2 separate regions of the Homo sapiens genome follow, and region 2 is linked to region 1. Evidence: promoter capture Hi-C in human tissues and cell types (Jung and others, 2019). All regions are on one chromosome and are shown on one strand. Each heading gives the region's core, a stretch centred on a gene start or on the middle of the fragment in contact. The rest is flanking DNA. Distances are from core to core; before and after follow the strand shown.

Region 1 (5,544 bases), core at 349-2,848:
ACCTTGTCTCTACTAAAAATAGAAAAAGTAGCCAGGCATGGTGGCGTGTGCCTGTAATCCCAGCTACTTGGGAGGCTGAGGCACAAGAATCACTTGAACCCGGGAGGTGGAGGTTGCACTAAGCCCAGATCGCACCACTGCACTCCAGCCTGGGCAACAGAGTGAGACTCTGTCTCAAAAAAAAAAAAAAAAAAAAAGCGAAATGGTAAAGAATGGTAAAGACCTTTCTGATGTAGACTGACAGCTAACCCAAGACTGAAGCATAATTTTACAGTCTGATATAACTTGGACAGAATAGCACCCTGCACCCTCCCCGAGGTTTCAAGTGTCCTGGGAGAACTGTGTTCTGCAGGGTATCAGCTTCCCCAGAGGAGGCAGCCTGGCCCCGCTCTGGCACCCTGACTGTGTGTCCTTGGGGAAGTGATGTAACGTCCCTGGACCTCGGTTTTCTGGGTAGAGTAATGGCGTATTCCTAGTAGGGCTTTGTAAGCATTAAATGTGATCCGGAATCTGTGAGCCCTTGCACACGAAGGCTTCCGTGAGTGCTAATTATTACTTGTGGCCGGTCCTTCTGGGCTGCCCCTTTTCTCTCAGATCCGGGACACCCACAGCTTGAGGACCACAGCGTTCCATGGGCAGCAGGTGCTCTACTGGGAGTCAGAGAGCAGCCAGGCTGAGATGGAGTTCAGCGAGGGCTTCCTGAAGGCTCAGGCCAGCCTGCGGGGCCAGTACTGGACCCTCCAATCATGGGTACCGGAGATGCAGGACCCTCAGTCCTGGAAGGGAAAGGAAGGAACCTGAGGGTCATTGAACATTTGTTCCGTGTCTGGCCAGCCCTGGAGGGTTGACCCCTGGTCTCAGTGCTTTCCAATTCGAACTTTTTCCAATCTTAGGTATCTACTTTAGAGTCTTCTCCAATGTCCAAAAGGCTAGGGGGTTGGAGGTGGGGACTCTGGAAAAGCAGCCCCCATTTCCTCGGGTACCAATAAATAAAACATGCAGGCTGACCGGCGTTTTTTTCTTATAAGCTGTCCAGACCTGGCTTGAAAACCCATCCCATGGCAAGGCAGGGATTCGCTGGCCGCGGTTGGCTCTATCTTGATCTGAGCAAGCCGCTGGACGTCCCTAGTTATCTTCTTCCTATCCAGGAAGAAAATCCAATCAGGATTCCACTCCGAGGATGGCGCATTAGCCAGCTCCCTGCGAAGCCCCACCCGTGTGTCCTGGTGTGAGGCTCTGACCGCTAAGGTGTCTGCGCGCCTCCAGGCCCCGCCCCCTATGCTAATAAGCGCCCGCCTCCTTTGGGAGCAAGTCGCCGCAAACTGCGAGCCCCCGCCCCCTACGCTAATGACGCCCGCCCCCCTCGGGCACACCTCTCCGATGCCTGCGAGCCCCGCCCCGTATGCTAACGAGCTCCCCACCCCCAGCTCCTCGCCGCAGCCTGCGGGTCCCGCCCCCTACAATAATGAGCACCTACCTCCCCTCAAACGCCCCTAGTCGCGGCATGAGGGTCCCGCTCACTATGTTAATGAGCACCCGCCTCCCTTCGGGCGCGCCTCGCCGCAGCCTGAAAGCCCCGCCCCCTATGCTAATATGCTCCCTCTCCCACAAGGCAGCGCGCCGGCTCGGACGCGGCCGGCTACCGAGCCCTTTGTGAGGGCTGTGAGCTGCGCCTGACGGTGGCACCATGAGCAGCTCAGGTGGGGCGCCCGGGGCGTCCGCCAGCTCTGCGCCGCCCGCGCAGGAAGAGGGCATGACGTGGTGGTACCGCTGGCTGTGTCGCCTGTCTGGGGTGCTGGGGGCAGTCTGTGAGTATCCAGTCGGGGAGAGGGGCCGGCCCCGCCGCGCATGCGCTCCTCGCCCTGCCCTGCCCCGCCCCGCCCCGGCGGCCCCAGGGGAAAGGACCCGCTGGGGGTCGGGGGTCTGCCGGGCGCCTCCCGGGGCGGAGGAATGGCGGGGCCGCCGGGAGCCGGCGTCCTGGGGTTGCCATGGTTACCCGCTCGGGCCTGGGCGCCTTGGTACCCCGGGCTGGGCTGGGCTGGCGCTTCTGGGAACATTCCCGGAGGGACCAGAAACCCCAGGGCGGGGGGGCGGCGGGGGCGGGGGTGGGGCACCGGCCTGGGGCACGTGACTGAGCCCTCCCCCCGCTCCCCAGGGGCTTTTGTGAGACTTTCTCGGTGATGCTCACGGGGCGCATGCCCACCTGGCCCGTACTAAAGCGTCAACTGTTGACTTGGGCGTAGGTGACGGCAGCCACATTGCTAACCTTTGGGCAAGGATTGTTTGTAAGGGAGGCGGGTGCACGGCTGGCTAGATTTCTGGCAGGAAGCCACTGGGCGGAAGTTTGCTGAGGGTCAGGTGGTGTCAGGGCACAGGTGGCCCCTGGGGCCGCGGGGCAGTGAGCTGAGGGCCCGGCCTCTCCCTGGGTCCTCTGTCCGCTCTCATATCTCCCCCGTTGCTGCTGCCTTAGCCGCCTGTCACCGGCCTTCCTCCCCTTCTCCGCACGCATCCCAGTCACAGACCCTGACCTTAGGCTGCCAGGGAAGCTAGGCTCTTAAGCACAGCCAGAAAAGGACAAAGAGGGAGGCAGGTCAGCTCCAGGAGTGAATGGAAGCCGTACAGCTGGCCTTCCAGGGAAAGACAAGTCTGTCTGAGTGATACCCTTTCCTTTCCTGTCTGCCCTCAATCTTGTGGATTACTGGAGTGGGCAAGGTCTTAGAGAATGTCTGTCGAGGATGTCTGCAGGTTTTAAACAGTGCCTGCCTGGCAGAGAGGGCTAGCTCTGGGCCTGGGCAGGGCAGGCCCCATCAGCAATCCTGCCAGAAGGACCACCTTTTCAGGGTCACCTTGGGTTCCACAGCCTTTCCAGGTGGGTAGAGGGTGGAGGGAGGTTGAGGCAGGAGGGTGCTGGGCTAGGAGTGTGCTGCCCTCGCTAGGCATGCCCTTATCCAGAGGCAACGGATACGGTAGGGCAGGCCCTACCCCCAAATCACAAAAAGGCCCCGAGTTTGTGTCACTGCTCTTCAGGGCAAGTACGCTTTTGACTTTGTAGGAGAGACTGGTGGGTTTGAAGTTAGGCATTGGATCCAGTCCTGTCATGTCTGGTTAGCTGTTTTCCCTGCAGATTAGGGTGGGCAGTGCAGTGGGGTGACATGGTCAGTGGTGAGAAAGGAAAGGTCCTGACTATGGCCTGTAGGCCACACCTCCTTCCTTCTTGGTCAGTGGCCCTGCCGACTCCCAGATTTGCTGTGGAGTCTTACTCAGTTCTGTGCCTCTCAAAGTGAGGTACCTCTGCCTTTCCTGGGAGTTCCTGGGGCTCTGTTGGGTCTACAGATGAAGCTTCAGGAGAAACTTGTGGCATTGCCCTGAGTTGTCAGTTGCATCTGCAGATTTTTGGGGGCATGGTTATGTGAACATCAAAATGCTGTATTACAGGGTAGAATGCAAAAATGCAGGGTGTTTTAGAGATGCGGCAGGAGTTCAGACAAGGGTTGTGTGCCGGGCTGGTCCTTGGGTAAGGTTTTCCTCCTCCAGGGTGAGGGGATCAGAGAGAGTACCTGGAGAGGGTCTACCCTGGGTCCTAAGAGCATCTGGAGGTGATACCTTGGGAGGGGACAGGATTGCATGGTGACAGCCCCCTCACGTGGAAGATATCAGCATTGAGGCCCCCAAGTGGACATCCTCCAGCCCTTTATTGCTAAAGGATTCCTGGCTGGAGCCTGCTGGTCTGGCTTGACACCTGGTCCTCCCCCAAGGCTGGCTGTGGGTTGGACAGCTGGGGTAGGGTTGGAGCTGGAGGCCAAATGCTGACTGCAGCAGGAAGCACAGCCGAGCTGTCAGGTGAGGCCAGGCACAGCAGAGAGGCAGGGAGCCGTGTCACCCTTTGGGCACTCTGCTAGGACAGGCAGGCCCCTGTGTACCTGTGGTTCTGGAACACCTTGCTGTCTGAAGGCAGATGTCTAAGGCTGTGCTGAGGAGCAGTGCAACGCTTGAGTCCTTTGTTTTAGAAGGAGACCCTGGGGGCCCATGAAGCAGTCCCATTGCAGTTCGGCTCACTTTATCTGGCTTCTTTGCCTGCTGTCTGCATAAGGTTACCTGGGAAAATGGAAAACAGCAGAATTCCAGACCCAGGTGGAGGGATCAGGTGCAGAGGAGCTGCTGCAAGTTTAATGAGCTGGGTGCTAATTGCTGCCTCCAAGGCCCCCCTCAGTGATGGCCTGGGCTTGCTCCCTGCCCAGCAGCCACCTCCTTGGACCTGCCTTGAAGGCTCCTGGAGTTCCTGGTGAAGCCAGGCTGCAGGCTGTGGGTGGAGGAGGGAGTTGGGTGCAAGAGACCCTGCTGGTGAGGTGCAGCTGGGAGGCGGGGCGTCAAGGCTGCACATCTGAGCATCAGAGAAGCCACGTTCTGGGGTGGAAAACGATGCCCCCTCCCCTTCCTGGCCTTATGGCATTTCAGCGGTGGGTGGCTGGGCTGTGGGACTTGCTCATGTGCAAGAGGAGAAACGGGTCTAGGAAGATGAAGATAGCGTGCCAGTGGCACAGGGCTGGTGAGGAAGTTAGAGCTGGAACTGCTGCTCAGTCTTACCTGGTTCCCATCTCTGTTCTGAGAGAGGCACCCCTTGTCCCAACCAAAATCCAAGCCACATTTTCTGAGTCAGAGGACTTCTTGTGTGGCCGGCCCTGTGAATGGTGGCAAGTGACCCTTACCGAAGGCTGAGTCTTGGGGGAGCACTGGCCTGAATCCTTGAGGGACATTCACTCTTTAATCCTTCTTTAATCCTAACCTCCCTTTGAGGTGGATATTGATGTAGCTGGGGTCAGAGGGCCAGCTCCTCTGAGCCCTGAAACGGGGAGAGGATGCTGTGAGATCCACCTGCCACCTTGCTGCCACCTTGCTGTGGGGCCTGGGGCAAGCAAGGCACTGCACCTCTCTGCGTCTCCTCACCTGTCTCAGACGATAGAGGGCAGGCTTCTGGGTGCTGTGAGAACTGTGTGCTGAGCATCCGCAGAGACTCTCGTCCTTTCCAGTCATCTCCCAAGGCCGCCTTCCCAGCGGGCTCCGCCTGCCTCCCTGCTGACTCCTGCCCGTGTCTCTTGTTTCAAGCTTGCGCGATCTCTGGCCTCTTCAACTGCATCACCATCCACCCTCTGAACATTGCGGCCGGCGTGTGGATGATGTGAGTAATGCATGGCCGTCCCACCCCGGGGGTCTTGCTGGTCGGGAATCTGCTGGGCACCTCCCGGGACAGAGGAGTGGCAGGGGCCGTGGGAGTGGGCATCCTTGTGGTTGCCATGGCTACTGGCTCCAGCCTGGGTGCCTCGGGCATGTGAGTTTCTGGCCACAGCATGCGGCTTCTTCCCCTTCATACCCCCACCATGTTTAGTTTCCTAATGAGAGGTCAAGGCCCAGGGAATGCCCACCCCGGCCTTCATCCGGTGCAGGGGCAAGGCCATCAGTGCTCCAGACATTTCTGGAGCATCCACTGAGACTGCAGATGCCAAGTCCACTATACTGGGGCCCTCGCCCTCTGGGAGCTCCCAGGAC
Region 2 (5,714 bases), core at 47-2,546, 1.1 Mb before region 1:
CTTAGTTGTGAACAAACACGGATTTGCATTCATATATGCCCAGACTCTGGCCCCAAAAGAACATTTCTGAAATTAAAAAACAAAAAACGAAATTGGTAAGTGGCATTTATACTCTATATCCCATCTGAGCCTGGTATCGATCCTATTACAGACAGATACTGCTGGCTGATGAGGAAGCCCAGATAGGTTAGACAACTTGGCTGTGGACTTCCAGGAAACAGCAGAACTGCAATTCTGACTCCCAGTTCCACAAGGGGCTGTCCCCACTCACGGGGACAGCTAGGCACCGAGCCAAAAATCCCCCAAGTTATTAGCCCGCGCAGGTAACATCAATCCTAGGATCCTCAGCTGTGTCACTTATCAAATACCACACTCGGCCTTCTCCTTGTGGAGCTCTTTTCCCTCAAGGCAGTCACCCCCGTTTCACTTGGGTCGTGCAAATTGCTGGGCACATCCTTAGATCCCCAGAAGTTGGGGAGGACGGACAAAGTCCTGTGGCCAGCAGCAAAAGCTCCAGCCCCTCCAAGTGGGAGAAACAGACTCTCCTCCAAACGAAGGGACCGGCCGGGCGCGGCGGCTCGGAGGATCCCTGGAGCAGCTGAGCTCAGCCTGGGAAACACAGCCAGGCCCTGTCTCTGCAACACATTTTGTTTTTAATTAGCCGGGCGTGGTGACGCGCGCCTATGGTCCCAGTTACTCGGGGGGATGAGGCGGAAGGATCGCTGGAGCCCAGGAAGACGAGGTTGCTGCGAGCCGTGACTGTTCCACTGCACTTCAGCCTGGGTGACAGAGCGAGACCCCGTCTCAAAAAAAAAAAAAAAAGAAAAAAGAAAAAAAAACAAAGGGAGGGACTCCAGGCGAGAGGCAGACGAGCGTGTGGAGGGAACCGACACTTTCCACCCCGAGACCTCCCGCTCAGCCCCAAGGAAACTACGCAGTATCCACACCAAAAACAGCTCACACGAGACCGCAGTGTAGACAACGGAAGGACAGGGGGTCGCAGCGGCCGGGTCCAGCGCGCAGGAAGGCAACAGGCGGCCGCCAGCCGTCGAGGGGTGCTCCCGCCCCCGCACCGAGGGAAGCGGCCGAGCCCGCGCCGACTCTTCCCCCATCCGCCCACCGGGACCTAGGCGCCGCGATGGTTCCCCGAAGCGGCCCTGCAAGCACAAGCCGCGCCTGCGCTCACGCCCGCCCGACCTACGGCCTCCAGCCCGCCGCTACCCTCACCGCTCTCTGGCTGGCGTCGGCCTCTAGCCCACCTCCATACCGGGCCCCGCTCTAGGCCACCAGCGGAAGTGCGGGCCCGCAGCCGCAGCTACCAACCAGCTGTTGCCGCGAGGTAGGCCCCGCCCCCGCGCTGAGTCGGCCGGCCGCAGGCCCCGCCCCGGCCGCTGCTTTCTGGTTTTGGTGCCCCCCAGGGGGCGGGGCATGGGAAGAGCGGCCGCGGTGCACCGCCCACGCCGGGCGCTGGCGTCACGTCCGGGCAGCTGGGGCCCGACCAATCCCGAGTCCCCGTCAGGGTGGACGGGGAGAGTTTGCCGCGGAACCTTGACCTCGGCCCCGCCCGGGGCTTCCTGCGGGTGGGGCGGCTCCGGGATGAGCTCTGCTGCGGGTGGGGTCAGCCCTTACCCGCTGGCCATTTCCGTTCCCTCTTTTTTCTTCTTTTTTCCACGCCTCAGGTGTCTCAGCGGATGTACTACGGTGACGAAGTAATTTTTCTCTTTAGATTTCCTTTAAAGACCTGAAATGTAAATTACATAAACGTGTAATTTCGGAGGAATATGTGTATATCCTTTATATTACAAGAAAGGGAGACCTTAGGTCTTGCGAACAATGCGCGCGATGCGCAACACAGCAGAGTAAATCCCTCGCTGGTGCGGTGGCTCCCGCTTCTAATCCCACCACTTTGGGAGGCCCAGGCGGGAGGCTCGCTTGAGCCCGGAGTTCAGAGACCAGCCTGTGCAACATAGCGAGACACCCGTATGTACAAAAAAAAATTAAAACTCAGCCACCGAGGCCGGGCGCGGTGGCTCACGCCTGTAATCCCAGCACTTTGGGAGGCCGAGGCGGGTGGATCACCTGAGGTCAGGAGTTCGAGACCAGCCTGACCAACATGGTGAAACTCCGTCTCTACTAAAAATAAAAAGATTACCTGGGCGTGGTGGCGGGTGCCTGTAATCCCAGCTACTCAGGAGGCTGAGGCATGAGAATGGCTTGAACCCGGGAGGCAGAGGTTGCAGTGAGCCGAGATCGCACCACTGCACTCCAGCCTGGGCAAAGGAGCGAGACTCTCTCTCCGGAAAAAAAAAAAAAAAAAAAAAAATTAGCACCTGTGGGCCCAGCTTGTTGGGAGGCTGAGGCAGGGGGTGGATATCCATTGAGACCGGGAGATCGAGACTGCAGTGAGCCGTGACTGTGCCACTACACTCCAGGCTGGGGAACAAAGCAAGACCCTGTCTCAGAAAAGTCTATAAATAAATAAAAATGAGTAAAATCCACTGGAAAGCCTATCCCCCCCCTTTTTTGTTTTTGAGATGGAGTCGCGCTCTGTCACCCAAGCTGAAGTGCAGTGGCGCAGTCTCGGCTCACTGCAACCTCCGCCTCCTGGGTTCAAATGATTCTCCTGCATCAGCCTCCCGAGTAGCTGGGAGTACAGGCGTGTGCCACACGCCCGGCTAATGTTCATGTTTTTAGTAGAGATGGGGTTTCACCATGTTGGCCAGGATGGTCTCAAACTCCAACCTCAAGTGATCCGCCCCGCCTCGACCTCCCAAAGTGCTGGGATTACAAGCGTGATCCACCGCACCCGGCCCCTACCCCCTTTTAGTAACGCCTACTACTGACCACGATGATGCAGCGTCACCGTCTTACAGTTAATAGAGGAGACAGGGAAATTAAACAATTAGTAGTGGTGACTCAGGCGATAAAAAAAGAGGCTGAGATGGGCCAGCTTGGGAAAAGTGGGTCAGATACAGCCTTACCGAGGAGAACCCTGGCCCGAGGATGAGGAGCAAGCCCAGGGGAACACTGCGGGAAAGGCCCAAGGCGAAGGAAGATTCTAGCAAGGGGGCGTGGCTTGTTGGAAGGGCGTGGTGGCCGTTATGCAAATTTAACCGTCTAAGGAGCAGCACGCGTTGACCGTTATTTTCCTCTTTTCTACTTCTTCATCCTGTCAAATATTTTGAACATATTTTGTTTTATCATATAACACTAATATACCAACACAGCCTTTATACCACCACAGTCATAAAATATAATTTTTTTTTTTTTTTGAGACGAGTCTCGCTCTGTCGCCCAGGCTGGAGTGCAGGGGCGCCATCTCGGCTCACTGCAAGCTCCGCCTCCCGGGTTCACGCCATTCTCCTGTCTCAGCCTCCCGAGTAGCTGGGACTACAGCCACGTGCCACCACGCCTGGCTAATTTTTTGTATTTTTAGTAGAGACAGGGTTTCACCGTGTTAGCCAGGATGGTCTCGATCTCCTGACCTCGTGATCCGCCCGCCTCTGCCTCCCAAAGTGCTGGGATTACAGGCTTGAGCCACCGCACCCGGCCATAAAATATAATTTTTATCATTTTTTTTAATGGAGAAAAGTGCCATGAAGGTAACTTGTGCCCAGAGCCCACAAAAGTCATAATTTCCTCCTGTCCCTGAAGCCCTCTGTAGGCCTTATCATCTTCCCACATTTTTTGTCTGTGAACAACATATAAATTTTACATGCTTTTTAACTCTGTATATGGAATTATGGAGGATGTATTTTTCTGCAAATTGCTTTTTACACTCAATGTTATGTCCTGAGACTCATTGATTCAAGGTGCATTCAGGAATTGTTGAGCCCAAAACTTACACAACCTATAGAATGTTAAACAGAAGCACTGCAATAGACTTTGTAAATATAAAATTAGAAATGAAAATTAATACTTATTTGGAATGAATAAATAAGTACAAATTACAAACTTCTAAAGCTGATAAAACCATAAACATGGCCAGGCGCAATGGCTCAGGCCTGTAATCCCAGCACTTTGGGAAGCTGAGGTGGGCAGATCACCTGAGGTCAGGAGTTCAAGACCAGCCTAGCCAACATGGTGAAACCCGGTCTCTACTAAAAATACAAAAATTAGCCAGGCTTAGTGGTGCATGCCCGTAGTTCCAGCTACTTGGGAGGCTGAGACAGGAGAATGGCTTGAACCCGAGAGGCGAGGCGACAGAGTGAGACCTCATCTCCAAAAATAAATAAATAAATAAATAAATAAATAAATAAATAAATAAATAAATAAATAAAAAGACTGGGAAGTATGAGGCCTCCAGTATCGTTCTTTTTCAAAATTGTTTTAGCTACTTAAGGTCCCTTGCTATTCCATGTGAATATTTAGAATTGGCTTGTCCCGTTTCTGCAAATAAATAAGTACAAGCAGTTGGAATTTTTATAGGGATTGAATTGTATTTTTAGATACATCTGGGGAATCAATTGACACCTTAACAATATTAAGTATAGCAGGTTCTCTAATAAGATCATTTTGTTCAATGTGGTTTTGTTATAACATTGATGAGAAAAAAAAAATCCATTCCTGCTCAAGGCTTTTTTTTGAGACGGAATCTCCCTCTGTAGCCCAGGCTCTGGAGTGCAGTGATGCGATCTTGGCTCACTGCAAGCTCCGCCTCCCAGGTTTCGGTTCAAGCAATTCTCCTGCCTCAGCCTCCTGAGTAGCTGGGATTATAGGCACGCACCACCACGCCCAGCTAATTTTTGTATTTTTAGTAGACACGGAGTTTCAGCATGTTGCCCAGGCTGGTCTTGAACTCCTGACCTCGTGATCCGCCTGCCTCAGCCTCCCAAAGTGCTGGGATTACAGGTGTGAGCCACCGTGCCTGGCCCCGAGGCCACTTTGTGTGTGGAGTTTGCCCCTTCTCCCCATGTCTGTGTGGGTTTCCTCCAGGTACTCCAATTTCCTTCCCGATTCCAAAGATGTGCCAGTTAGGTTGATTGGCATGTCTACATTGTCCTAGCCTGAGTGAGCATGGGTGTGTGTGTGAGTGTATACCCTGCAAAGGGATGGCATCTTGTCCAGAGTTGGCACCCACCTGGCACCAGGAAAGATTCTGGCCATCCGCGATCCTGAACTGGAATGAGTGGGTAGATTATTACCTTGTTAATCTTATTAATAAAGATTAGTCTTTTATTAATCTTTCTTGAATGTATAGCCTACATTTATTTCAATGTTTAATATTAGAAGTGTTTTGTGTGTTTACTTAGAAGTTTGGTCAGAATAACTGGCTTTTATGAGACAAGTCAGAACTTGTGGCTCAGAAGACAAACCCCACACACATTCAAGTGGATGAAAACAAGCCCCCTACAAGGGCTCTATCCTCCTCCTCCTCCTAGTTGTTCTTTAGTTTCAGAACCTGTTTGATGTGTTTTTTTAATCCTATATATATTTTACGGTTGTGACTTATCCATTGTTTGATTTTTGTACAAGAAAATCTTTGCTATAGAAATCAGTATACTATTTTTATCTGGAGAGAAGATATTATGGCAACTTAAACTGTGGTCAGATGTTAGAGAAAAATGTATAAATGCCTTCTTGCCATGCTATCAGTCATATTACATTCATTTTATATTGACTGACAATATCAAAAGTTTCTTTTTTTGTTTGTGTAAACTCTAATTTCTATCAAGGTGTAATGAATATTTAAAGTTGGTTTTTCATTACAAATC

What was found. Contacts are between HindIII fragments. The study calls those that stand out against the background at their distance.
Region 2: the fragment with the promoter of SETX here is called in contact with the fragment with the promoter of CACFD1 in region 1 in 1 of the 25 tissues and cell types used here (small bowel).

What each region holds. Positions count from the first base shown.
Region 1 is chr9:133,458,380-133,463,923 of GRCh38, forward strand. It overlaps CACFD1 (calcium channel flower domain containing 1), which reads left to right and starts at 1,599. Exons shown (of 5, transcript NM_017586.5): 1 at 1,599-1,808; 2 at 5,104-5,176. The coding sequence starts at 1,688. ADAMTS13 (ADAM metallopeptidase with thrombospondin type 1 motif 13) reads left to right here. Exons shown (of 29, transcript NM_139027.6): 29 at 595-1,007. The coding sequence ends at 801. RefSeq lists silencers at 1,195-1,414, 1,425-1,524, 1,815-2,114 and enhancers at 4,057-4,613, 4,791-4,850. The HindIII fragment of the contact is 20,945 bases long and covers 1-4,221 here.
Region 2 is chr9:132,353,690-132,359,403 of GRCh38, forward strand. SETX (senataxin) reads right to left here and starts at 1,297. Exons shown (of 26, transcript NM_015046.7): 1 at 1,228-1,297; 2 at 1-66. RefSeq lists enhancers at 561-1,062, 882-2,081, 1,063-1,562 and silencers at 947-1,156, 1,207-1,596. The HindIII fragment of the contact is 18,222 bases long and covers 1-5,714 here.